Linked DNA regions of Homo sapiens: region 1 is linked to region 2. Evidence: promoter capture Hi-C in 16 types of primary human blood cells and fetal thymus (Javierre and others, 2016). All regions are on one chromosome and are shown on one strand. Each heading gives the region's core, a stretch centred on a gene start or on the middle of the fragment in contact. The rest is flanking DNA. Distances are from core to core; before and after follow the strand shown. Region 1 holds the start of CCSER2 (coiled-coil serine rich protein 2). Region 2 holds the start of ANXA11 (annexin A11).

Region 1 (5,911 bases), core at 2,800-5,299, 4.1 Mb after region 2:
GACCTAGTCTTTGTCAATATTTTAAGCACACATTATTGTCCAATACATTAAATATCTTAGGGATTGATATTTAAAAGACATTATTTTCTAAATATGAAAGTGTATTATTAAATGAAGTGTGGTTATACAAATCAGGCATTCCGTCTGCTTTTTCCATTTGAGTATCATTGATCTGGAGACAGGAAAGAACTGGATATTTTTCAAGCAGTTCTCCTGAAATGTTATTACAACCGAGCTGTTGGGGCCGACGAGGATTTCAGAGAACTGCAAGTCTACAACCAGGTAAGGGCAACTCCAGAGCTTTAAACAGCCGGCCAGGCCCGGAAGCCTTCCAGGCTGAGGACTCTCAGCAGCAGGACTGGCCGCGTCGAGGAAAAACAAGAGGGGAAGAGATGGCCTCTGGGGGATGGAAGCCCCAAAGGGAAGAAAGACCTGGTTTCTGGCAAAGAAACCACATTGGCCAGGAGCTGTGGCTCACGCCTGTAATCCCAACACTTTGGGAGGCCAAGGTGGGAGGATTGCTTGAGCCCAGGAGTTTGAGACTAGCCTGTAAGACCACTTCCCCCAACTCTAAAAAGAAAAAATAAAAATTAGCCGGGTATTTGGGTCAACTTGTGATAGTTTACTTTGACTAGTGTGGTCTTAGTTGTAATTATTTCGGAGGCTTGGTGATACACGCCTGAGGCGAGAGGATCGCTTAAGCCCAGGAGGCTGCAAGTGAGCTGTGATAGCGCCACCGAACTCCAACCTGGGTGACAGGGCGAGACTCTGTTTCAAAAAAAAAAAAAAAAAGGGAAAACCAGATCAGCACTTGGGGTGCCCCTTCCCCTCAGCTTTAGCAAGATCCTGTGTTTTGATGCGGTAGGCAGGTGCGTGGTTCAGTCATGCCCAATGCTCAGACCACTCCTCACTTTTCACATCCAGGAGGAGGAGCTGTCAGGTTTGACCGCACTCAAGCAGCAAATGTAGTCCAGGGGACGGCTAGAGGTGAGGTCAGCCGCAAGACTGGCGTCACTGCGTGGGCCCAGCAAAAACCTGAGTCAGGAGGCGGCCAGGCAAGGTCAGTGGAGGGGGCGGGGCCCGAAGCGGAGGCGGAGCTTGGGAAAGCCTGGCGTGAGGGCGGGGCGGGGCCAGAGGTGGGCTGAGGCCGGATCAGGCGGTGGGGGCGGTCCCCGTAGCCCCGTGAGGCTCGCGCCTGCGCACGGGCCCGCGGCGGGGCGGGACTGCGCGTGCGCGGTGCGCCGGCCCTGGAGGGCGGAGTCCGGGCGGGCGCCGGCCGAGGGAGGGGGCGCGGCGGCTTTGGAGTCCGGCGCTCCCTCAGGCCGCGGACGCGATGCTGGTTGCTGCGGCTCGGGCGGCGGGGCTGGCGGGGATGTGACGGGCGGCCCTTCGTCTCACCTTCCGTCCTCGGGCCCGCAGGTCGCAGGGCGGCCTGCAGCTGGGCCGCGGCCGAGGAGGCAGCGCGACCTCCGCACGGTGAGATCCGGGCTCAGGGCCAGAGCCGGGGCCGGGGTCGCGGCGGGCGCCGGGGGCAGCCCAAGACCAGGCACGCAGTCCGGGGCGGGGCGGAGGCCCGAACTCCCGGGCTGAGGCGGTGTCGCCCTCCCGTACCCGGCCTCCAGGGTGAGCCTCTCTAGCCCCTCGCGAGCCGCCGGACGCGGGGCGGGCGCGGACCCGGGAGGCCGGAGGGCGCCCTCCCTGCGGCTGTGACAGCGCGGGGCCTCGGGCCGCGGGCGCCGCCGCCTTTCAGGAGAAATCAGGGCGAGGCTGAGGCACTCTGATTTCGGAGCCTGGTTGCGTGTGAGGGTGGATAGGGAAAGTACCGGGGCTCCCCGAATGAGTTCGATTTTTTTTTTCTTTCAATTACTGGGCTAAATGAAAGACACACCCTAAAACACATCCTGAGGTGAAACTTTGGTGGGGCACACCGTTGCCGTAGGTTCAGATCTTCTCTCTTGTCTTTAGACATGTATTTTCATACATTTTTAAATAATGCACCTACTTTCTTGATAAAGTAAAAGGAGGAATGAAGGGACTCCTTTGTGGTGGTCCTTGGTGGCGAAGCTTGTTTCCATTTCAGTAATTGCATATTCATCTGTGTGGGCTCCCCGACCAATGAGGCTGGCTGCTCCCAGACAAGGCCTTAGCGGAGTGGAAATGACTGACGCAGGGACTCTGGTCTCAGATTAGAGTGTTGGTAGCTCACTCCTGTAAGAGAGAAATTGAGCTTTAAGCTTTTTAAAATAGCCATATGAAAAGCATTCCTTTTCTCCTGAGCATTAAAATATGACGGAACCTATTCATTTGGCCAGTTGTTTTTTTTAAAGCATCATCTTTTAGACTAGAGACTTTAGAGATGGCAGCTGCTCTTTAACCAAAAGGAACTTAAGATGCTCTCCTGCAAAAGATGGGTTCAAAACATGTCTTATCCGTCATCCATATGTGATAAAAATGTAAATATTCCTGAGTGTTTGCCTGAAATCAGTCTTCTTCCTCTTGGACTTTATTACTGTTTCTCTTAATTTATGAAAGCTTGTTACTGTTATTTTTTGTTTTCGTTTGTGTTCTAAACAACATTGGCTTCAAATAATCTTCAGGTTAAAAATGCACACTTTGTTGAACCCTTTAGCCATAATTCATACTGTCGTACTTCAGCATAAGCCATAGTTAAGAAAGCACTAGAAGCCATCCTGAAAGCAAGCCGAAAGTCTCTATTAAGAATTCTGTAAAAATTCTACCTTTCCACATTCAGACCTGCATTTTTTGTTGCTTTGACTCAACTCCTTTGACTATTTTGGAGGAAGGGACTTTGAATCCATATTTACAAGTCCTTCAGTGACTCTCCATAGTCTATATCGATAAAATTCAAAGTCCTTCATGATTAGCGGTATTTGTCTCCATTCTAGTGTCATCTTCTACCATTATGCCTGCCCTCTCTATATAAGACTGTTGCAGTTCTCTGAAGATGACATCTTCCTCTGTGGTTTTTCAGTGTTCTTTGTTGAGAATTCTCTACCTAGTAAACAACTTGCCCTTGAAGACCTTACGAAAGTAGCACTTCTGAGGCTTGTCTAGACATTTCATCCCTCTTGTCTTAACTGATTCGTACACTCTCCAGTTAGTATTTGTCAACTGGTAGTTAATGATTTGTTTATGTGTCTGTCTCCACCAGGTTTTGGGGTTTCTTTTGTGTTTTTTGAGACAGAGTCTTGCACTGTGGCCTGGGCTGGAGTGCAATGGCCTCATCTCGGCTCACTGCAACTTCTGCTTCCTGGGTTCATGCGATTCTCTTGCCTCAGCCTCCTGAGTAGCTGGAATTATAGGCACACACCACCACACCTGGCTAATTTTTTTTTAGTAGAGACGGGTTTCAGTATGTTGGCCAGACTGGTCTCAAACTCCTGACCTCGTGATCCGCCCACCTCGGCCTCCCAAAGTGCTGGGATTGTAGGCTGGTTAGGAATGAAACCCCAGTTATGTTAAAAAAAATCCATTTTATGATACAGGAATAAAAAGGGCATGACCAATAAAGATTGCTGCTTCATTGGTCCTACAACTTTATTTTGAGGCGCAAAGTCACGCAGGTAGAAAGGGATGGCGGGGATTACAGTCCAGGTCTTTTGACCATCTGTGTATTTCACTTTTGCCCCCAGTCTCCTAATTCTAAATCTTAATTGTTTTACAATTTGAATGGGAGTTGTGAGCGACTTGGATGTGTTCTGAAAAAAGGGTCAATAGAATATTGAACTTGAAAGAATTAACAGATTATTTGGTTCAACTTTAAAAATTTTACGGTTAAACAACTCAGCCTAAAAAGACAACTTGTTTGAGATTGCTTAGGCTCACCTACATCTCATATCTCCTGACCTCATCATTGTGTGTTTTTCACTACTCCATGGTGCTTTGGGGTGAAATGAAGGAGCTGCCAGTTTTTCAGAGGGAGTGCAAATCTGCTTGCACTTTCTCCCTCTTTGAATACATGGCTGCCACTCCTAGGGACTTAGAACCCTTGTGGCTGAGAAACATGATAATTCATTTGGGGATATGGGAGAAACCTAACCTTCACTATTCCTCTCAGCCAGATAGTTTTAACTTCAGTGCTTGGGGCGCTCTCTCCAGATGCCCCATAACAAGTGGCTTCTGATCACCATATGGACATCTCACATACAGTTAAGTTTTGATGGTACAATGAGATTTTAATATAAGAAGGTTGCAGCTGGCTAATAGCATGGCTAAAATTACTTGTGTGGCTTGTCTGTGAGAGGAGCCTATCTTACTCCTATGTGATAGGATTTTGGGGGAAAAAATTGATGATTGTGGCTGTCTCTAAAAAGTTGAAATGTGTACTTAGTGGTGTGGGCCTGACCAATTCCAAAAGGCTTTTTATCTTACAAACAATGGTCAAAGAAATTTTAAAAATCAAAACAAACTTAATTTTTCTTCTTATTTCTTGTCATATCAGTGGTTTTATATGATAAAGCATACACATAATGCTTAATATTTGCTTTCATATTTGATGTTTTATTTTTGCTATAGTTTTTATACCTTTAGATGATTATACAGTGTTACAATGTCATTTCTTAATAATTGGACATCTAGATTGTTTACTATTTTGCAGATAATGCCGTTAGTATATAGCTGTTTATCATTTTGCTTCTTCCCTTTGGGCTAAAGGCCCAGGAGCAGTATTACAAAGTCAGAGGGTATGAAGGTTTTGTTAATTCTGAAAAATATTACTAGATTTACTTCTAAAAGATATTGATTTACAGACTCCAGTAGAGTTTGGTTGACCATTTCTATCATACTTTATAGGTTTTTGCTTTTAAAAGTTTGTTTTTTAAAAATGAGGATAAGGTTCCTTGCAGTTTAACATCATAGTCCATAATAGACAAGCAAATGCAGTATTCTTCTAGTTTTATTTTCTCCTTTATTTGTCCATCGTCCATAAATTTATTGGAATCTTCTCACCAATTTTCATTAGCACTAACATCATAAATATATTAATCTCTTGAAAAACATTTCTGATCTATTTTTTCTTATTGTAGGCTTTATAGATTTTATATTATTAAATTTATTTTTTTATATATATATATATATATATATATTTTTTTTTTTTTTTTTTTTTGAGACAGAGTCTTGCTCTGTTGCCAGGCTGGAGTGCAGCGGTGCCATCTCGGCTCACTGCAACCTCTGCCTCCTGGGTTCAAGCGATTCTCTTGCCTCAGCCTCCCCAGTAGCTGGGACTACAGGCACGCGCCACCACGCCTGCCTAATTTTTGTATTTTTAATAGAGATGGGGTAATCCCTATATTATATATTTTTTTAAAAAATCAGTGTGGCTGGGTGTGGTGGATCACACCTGTAATCTCAGCACTTTGGGAGGGTGAGGCGGGAGAATCGCTTGAGCCTAGGAGTTCAAGACCAGCCTGGGCTGTTAACATAGTGAGACCCCCATCTCTATTTTAAAGAAAAAAGATAAAAGAAAAAAGTCAGTGATTTTTGTCCTTTGATTGTGTTTTTTGAGAATGAATGCCATGTACCTGTTTGATGCATACTTTTATTTTCTTAAGCTTCTAGAATTCATTTTGTTATGTATATATATTTGGAAAGTTAATATACAACTGAGATAAAATTTCATTTATGTGTATTTTATATTATAGAAAACTACATTATTATGTTTTCATTCTTTTTTCTGAACTTAAATAGGAAAACAAAATAACCTAACTTTAATACAAATGTGTACTTGTTTTTTAATAAATTATGGTAAGTTTTAGTTAAACTAACATTTTTATGACAGCAATATATTGGTTAATTGAAATTTTTGTCTGTTCAAGATTAACCAGAGGGTTGTCTTTAACTCTTATTGCTAATCATTCTAAAATATATGAAAGGAAACCTTAGTAATCTGCTC
Region 2 (5,804 bases), core at 177-2,676:
TATTACCCCCATTTTACAGATGAAAAACCAAAGCACAGACAATAGTCAAAGAAAAGATAGCAAGGTATGCAGGAGCCTGAAGTAGTGGGCACCCAATGCCAGGGCAACAAACTGCCCTGGCACCTCACCTGGCCTCTCTTATCAGGGAACACCTTGCAGCACAAAGAATGCCTTGAGGAAAGGGGCCCTGTTAATCCCCTGGAATCCCCAACAATTGACTGCCGCATAAAAGGAATGAGGAAAGCAATGAGAGCCAGTGAAGGGTGAGCATACCAGGCCCTGCCCTGCAAACCTAGTCCCTGTTGCGTGGGCAGGGCAGGGCAGGGCAGGGCAGGGGCTCGGCCTCACAGCTCCACTCCATGCCCAGCGCAGAGAACAGAGGGGAGAGCTACCACAAACGCCGAATCTCTACAGAGAGGTCAAGGATTGGAGGGCAGAGACAGAAATGCCCCGGGCTGACTGTTTCCAGCTTGGGCTAGCACTGGCTGGCTTAACTTTTCCCCTCCAAAGTCTCTAGGTAACAAACTTCGCGTGTCTCCTTTAAACCAACAGACCATTTTACCTAAGTCTTAAGGGCCTGGCCTGCACCCATGGGAGATACAAGTCCAGGAATCCCTTCCTGAAACTGGGGATCAAGGTTGGGGAAGGGGCGAAGGCACGCACAGCACCTGGGATGGCTCCCGCATTCCCTCAAACACTGGGGAGAGTTCCTTACAAATAAACTGCAATGGTAGCAGCTCCCAGGAATGTGCGTGCTCCCAGTTTCGGAGGAAAGTTCCTGAAGATAGCCTTCTCTGCTTAATCTCCCCAAGCCTCGCCTAGAAGGGCGCGCGCACCCTGGAGGGCTCCGCAGGGCTGCGGGGCCGGGCCTCCGGCACCCCTCCCGCCACCCGTTGCCTCCTGCGCCCAGGGTCACGGCCCCTGGCCCTACCCAGGCCCAGACTGAGACCCCGACCCCTGAGCCCGGGGGGACGGCGAGTGCACCCCGACCACACATGAGGGAGCAGCCCCAGACGCCGAGGCTGATCTAGGGGGCTGCCAGGCCGACACGGCCCGCCCGCGACCCGCCGACGCCCTCCCCTGCCCCCCACCCCCACGCCTGTAGTGCAACCAGGAAGCCGCAGGGCCGCGCTGGGCTGGGCGCCAGGCAGCCCCGGGCCTCACCCGCGGCGCCGCGGTGCACTGCCGCCGCCTGGTCCCAGGCCCCCAGCCGGCTCGGGACCCTCACTCACCTGGCCACGGGGACTCCGGACGCGAGGGGCGAAATGGGACGTGGGCGGGAGTGGCTCTCTCCGCGGGCGTCCCGGGCGCGGCGCCTGGGTTCTGCCTAGGGGCTGGGTCCCACTCCCGCTCGCGGGGCCCGCGGGGCACTCGGGGCACTGGGGAGCCGCGGGCGCAGCAGCCGTCAGCGCCGGGCGGAAAACTCCGCGGGCGCGGCTGCCCCAGGTGCCAGAGGCAGTGCAAGGGAGGGGCGGGGCCTGAGCGCGGCCCCGCCCCCAAGATGAGGACTGGGCACGGCGGGCCCGCGAGGAGCAGCAGCCTTCCGGCTGCGGAGCTGCTCCAGGAAGTCTCGGGCTCCGGAGGTCCCTCTGCCGCCCCTAACCCCTGCGGCGCCCAGTGCCGCGCAGAGCCGCATTCGCCCTCCTGCAGGGGTGGGCATTTCCTAAGTCCTCTCCAGCCCCGTGTGCGTCGGTTAGTGACTCTCTTTAAGGTCGAGAAAACTTTTTACACTGAAAAGGTCAAACGCATTTCCTTTATAGCAACACTCGGTGGTGGTGGAGGGGGGAAGGTCACGCACAGTATGTGAGGAAGGGAGCGGTCAGTGACTATCGTGGAGAAACCTGACAAACCACCCAGCCGTCAAGGTGACCTCGACAGGGGTAAATCATACTGATTGCATGCACCGCTTGTGGTCTTCCTCCCAAGAACACCTAACCCCACTGTAATCATGAGGAAAACATCACAAATCAATTGAGGCCCTTGCCATATACATGACCAGTACTCCTGAAAACTAGCAAGGTCATCAAAAACAAGGAAAGTCTAGGACACTGTCACAGCCAAGAGGAACCCACGGAGATATAAAAATGACTTAAGATGTTAATAATAGGAAAAGCCCGGGTTTATGAGAATTCCCTGTATTCACACTTTTTCTGTAAATCTAAAGATGTTCTAAAAATAAAGCATATTTTTAAAAGGTCACCCAGGTAATATATGCATATATGGTAGGTATACAATTTTTTTTTTTAATGAGTGGTGGCTGACGCCTGTAATCTCAGCACTTTGGAAGGCCAAGACAGGAGGATGGCTTGAAGACAGGGCTTCCAGACTAGCCTGGGCAACATAGTGAGACCCAGTCTCTAAAAAACTAAAAATAAAAAATTCAAAAAATGAGTAAAAATTGAGATTCACTCTTCCCTCCACTCCCCCAGCCCACTCTTAGGTGTGTCCTTCCAAATATCTCTCTTTAACACTGTGTGTGTGTGTTTACATAAACGTATTGTTTACAAAACGATATTGCAGTACTTTTCTGCAACATGTTTTTTTACTCACTATATCTTGGAGGGTCTTTCCATACAAGTGCTCCTGAACAGACCTGGTTCTTCCCATCCACTGCACACTGCGCGCCATCGTGCGCTTCACCATTCTTCATTACCTAGCTCCTTACTGAAGGACATTTAGGTTGTTGCCTATGTTTGGCTGTTACAAACAAGCTGCTGGTTCGATTTTCCTTTTTTTTTTTTTTTTTCTGAGACGGAGTCTCGATCTGTCGCCCAGGCTGGAGTGCAGTGGCGCGATCTCGGCTCACTGCAACTTCCGCCTCCCGGGTTCAAGCGATTCTCCTGCCTCGGCCTCCTGAGTTGCTGGATCTACAGATGCCCACCACCACGCCCGGCTAATTTTCATTTTTAGTAGAGACGGGGTTTCACTATGTTGGCCAAGCTGTTCTCGAACTCCTAGGCTCAAATGATCCGCCCGCCTCGGCCTCCCAAAGTGCTGGGATTACAGGCGTGAGCCACCGCGCCCGGCCCGATTTGCGTTTTAAAGTCGCTCTGAACAATAAAATCCGGAAGGACTGGAGGGGAGGCTCCGACCTTCTCCCTGTCTGGGCAGGTGTGCTGGTGCCGGGCAGGAACGGTGCCTTGGGACAGCCTGGCCCCGGCCTCACAACGGGCCCCGGGCGCTCAGTCATATTCCGTGGCCGCTCCAACACCCCCTACCCCCACCAGCAGGCGCGGCTCTCTTTCGGGGCTGGACTGCATTTTTTGGACATGAGTCGGCGAGTGAGGGTGAAACTCAGGCCAAAGTCTCCAGAGCCGCTCGGAGAAAACGCTGCCTGGAACAGAAGAGCAGAGGATCAGAGGCACCACCAGAGACTCTCAGAGTGGGTTATTACCCTGGTGGGGGCGCCTGCTGCGGCGTAGGAGATGGCGGGACTGGGGGCGCGGGTGTGAAGCCCCCAAGAAATCTGTGTGAATTTCCTGGGGAGGTAAGGTCTCCAGGCGCTCTCTCTGGGCCCGGGGATTGGTCCGGGAAGGTCTCCTGGCGCCTACCCAGCCCCCACTGCCTGGACGCCTGCGCCTGCTCTGCCGCCCCACAGCGACCGCGAAGGCCAGCTTCTTCGAAAGGCCCATTTTTCTCCGTGGCTGAGCGAATGCTCCTAGAATACCACGTTTATAATAAATCATGTAGGGTGGAATTCCTGCTGGATGTATACACCTTTCTGCATCAGAGCTCTTCAAACCCAGAATGGTGAATAGCTACCCCTGGGCTTACCCTTTTATAATTTTCAACAAACCTGCGTTTAGCCCCGGCTAGGTGCCAGCAAGTTGCTAGGGACTGAGGAGGCTCTGCAGAGGACCCGAGCTGAGGCCCTAATCCTCAAGGCCAATGGCAGGGGTCACCGCCCAGGCACCCCCAGAGAACGCGGTGTGAAGGAAAAGACACCAAACTCGGTGTTCAAATGTGTGGGATCTATTCTAGTTCTGATTCTGACACTTGCAAGTCATGCATCCTCCGAGCCTCGGCTTTCTCACCTATAAAATCTTCAACGTGACCTATAAAAATCCATAAAATCACCCCTGCTTCATTGTTTCCCAGGGCTCATAGAAACATCATACAAGGTAAGGGAAGGTGAGTGCACTGTAAAAAATGGTGACGTGCTATATAGCTCTGAGTAGTATGGTATATAAGCTTCCTTTTTAAAAATTTTAATTTTAGGGCCAGTGTTGGGATTACGGGTGTGAGTTACCGCACCCGGCCTCTTTTGTTGTTTTCTAATAAGTATATATGACTATCATTTCCCTCAAAAGTCTGCTTTAGCTGAATATCACAAGTTTTAATATGCTATGCTTTTGTTATCACTTAGTTATACATATTTGGATTTTGTTGTTGTTGTTGTTACAGAGTCTCGCTCTGTCGTCCAGGCTGGACTGCAGTGGCAAGATCTCAGCTCACTGCAACCTCCACTTCCCGGGTTCAAGAGATTTTCCTGCCTCAACCTCCTGAGTAGCTGGGATTACAGGTGCACGCCACCACACCCGGCTAATTTTTTAATTTTTAGTAGAGATGGGGTTTTACCATTTTGGCCAGGCTGGTCTCCAACTCCTGACCTCAAGTGATCCACCGGCCTCAGCCTCCCAAAGTGTCGGGATTACAGGCGTCAGCCACTGTGCCTGGCCAATATTTTGTTTTTTATGTTAGGATTGTATGCTTAATTCATGGATTATTTAGACGTATATTTTCCATTCTTTTTTTGTTTTCAAACTTCAGTTTTTTAAAAAATAATAATAATCATTTGGGGAGGGGCCCAGTGGCTCAGGCATGTAATCCCAGCACTCTGGGAGGCCAAGGTGGGAAGATCGCTTGAGATCAGGAGTTTAAGACCAGCCTGGGCAACACAGTGAGAGCCCCTCTACAAAAAAAAATTTAAATAAAAATAAATCAATCATTTTGTCATTGATCTCTAACTTTAATGCTTGGAGATGAGGAAATGTGTTCTTTTAGAATTTGTTAATGCCTCCTTTGTGGCCTCATATACAGACTTTTTTTGGCTGTCCCAATTTTTGTGAACGTCTCTTCACTTTTTATGTGGTTTTTTTTTCTCTATATCTCTCCATCTAGCTTGCTAATCAGGTTATTTAGATCTTTTATCTCCTGGGTTTTTTTTTTTTTTCTCTCCTGTTCAATCCATTGATTTCTGAAAGAGTAGGTTTAACATTTCCCACTTTTATTGTAGTTTGTCAATTTCTCCCTCTAATTTAGTCTGATTTTGCTTTATACTATTTTTTTTGGTTTTTTGATTTTTGTTTAAGAGGCAGTGTCTCACCATGTTTCCCAGGCTGGAGTACAGTAGCTATTCACAGGTGTGATTATAACTGCAGCCTCAAACTCCTGACCTCAAGCCATCCTCCTGCCTCAGCCTCCTAGGTGGCTGGCATTACAGCCATGTACCACCTCACCCGGCCAGCCTTATAATTTTGAGAGCAAATTATTAGGCTTATACAAATTAATATTGTTTTATCCTTTTATGACTTATTCAGTTTTATTACTTTTTGTATAAATATTGTTATCCTGAGATAGCATTTGTCTAGTATATGTTTTATTTCTCCTTTTTTACTCTTTCTGTATTGTTACTTAGGTTTATCTCTTGGAAATGACATATTGTTTTTTACAAGATTTAAAAAGTTCATCTGAGTTTCTATTTCTAATTTGTGAGTTTAACCAGTTCACATTGATAAGAATAACAGAAATATTTGGGTTTATTTCTGCCATCATTTGTGTTATACATATACCCTTGAAATGGA

Evidence for each region. Contacts are between HindIII fragments. The CHiCAGO score rates a contact against its expected background, and 5 or more counts as called.
Region 1: a contact is called between a fragment that was not itself captured here and the fragment with the promoter of ANXA11 in region 2, in 2 of 17 cell types (non-activated CD4 T cells and total CD8 T cells). The highest score is 7.1, in non-activated CD4 T cells.

What each region holds. Positions count from the first base shown.
Region 1 is chr10:84,327,333-84,333,243 of GRCh38, forward strand. It overlaps CCSER2 (coiled-coil serine rich protein 2), which reads left to right and starts at 1,257. Exons shown (of 10, transcript NM_001284240.2): 1 at 1,257-1,476. RefSeq lists a silencer at 1,021-1,750 and enhancers at 1,801-2,150, 3,198-3,277. The HindIII fragment of the contact is 3,038 bases long and covers 2,531-5,568 here.
Region 2 is chr10:80,204,111-80,209,914 of GRCh38, forward strand. It overlaps ANXA11 (annexin A11), which reads right to left and starts at 1,427. Exons shown (of 16, transcript NM_145868.2): 1 at 1,233-1,427. LINC00857 (long intergenic non-protein coding RNA 857) reads left to right here and starts at 3,600. Exons shown (of 2, transcript NR_038464.1): 1 at 3,600-4,121. RefSeq lists a silencer at 771-1,650 and enhancers at 2,425-3,066, 2,837-4,036, 3,067-3,708. The HindIII fragment of the contact is 13,979 bases long and covers 1-4,189 here.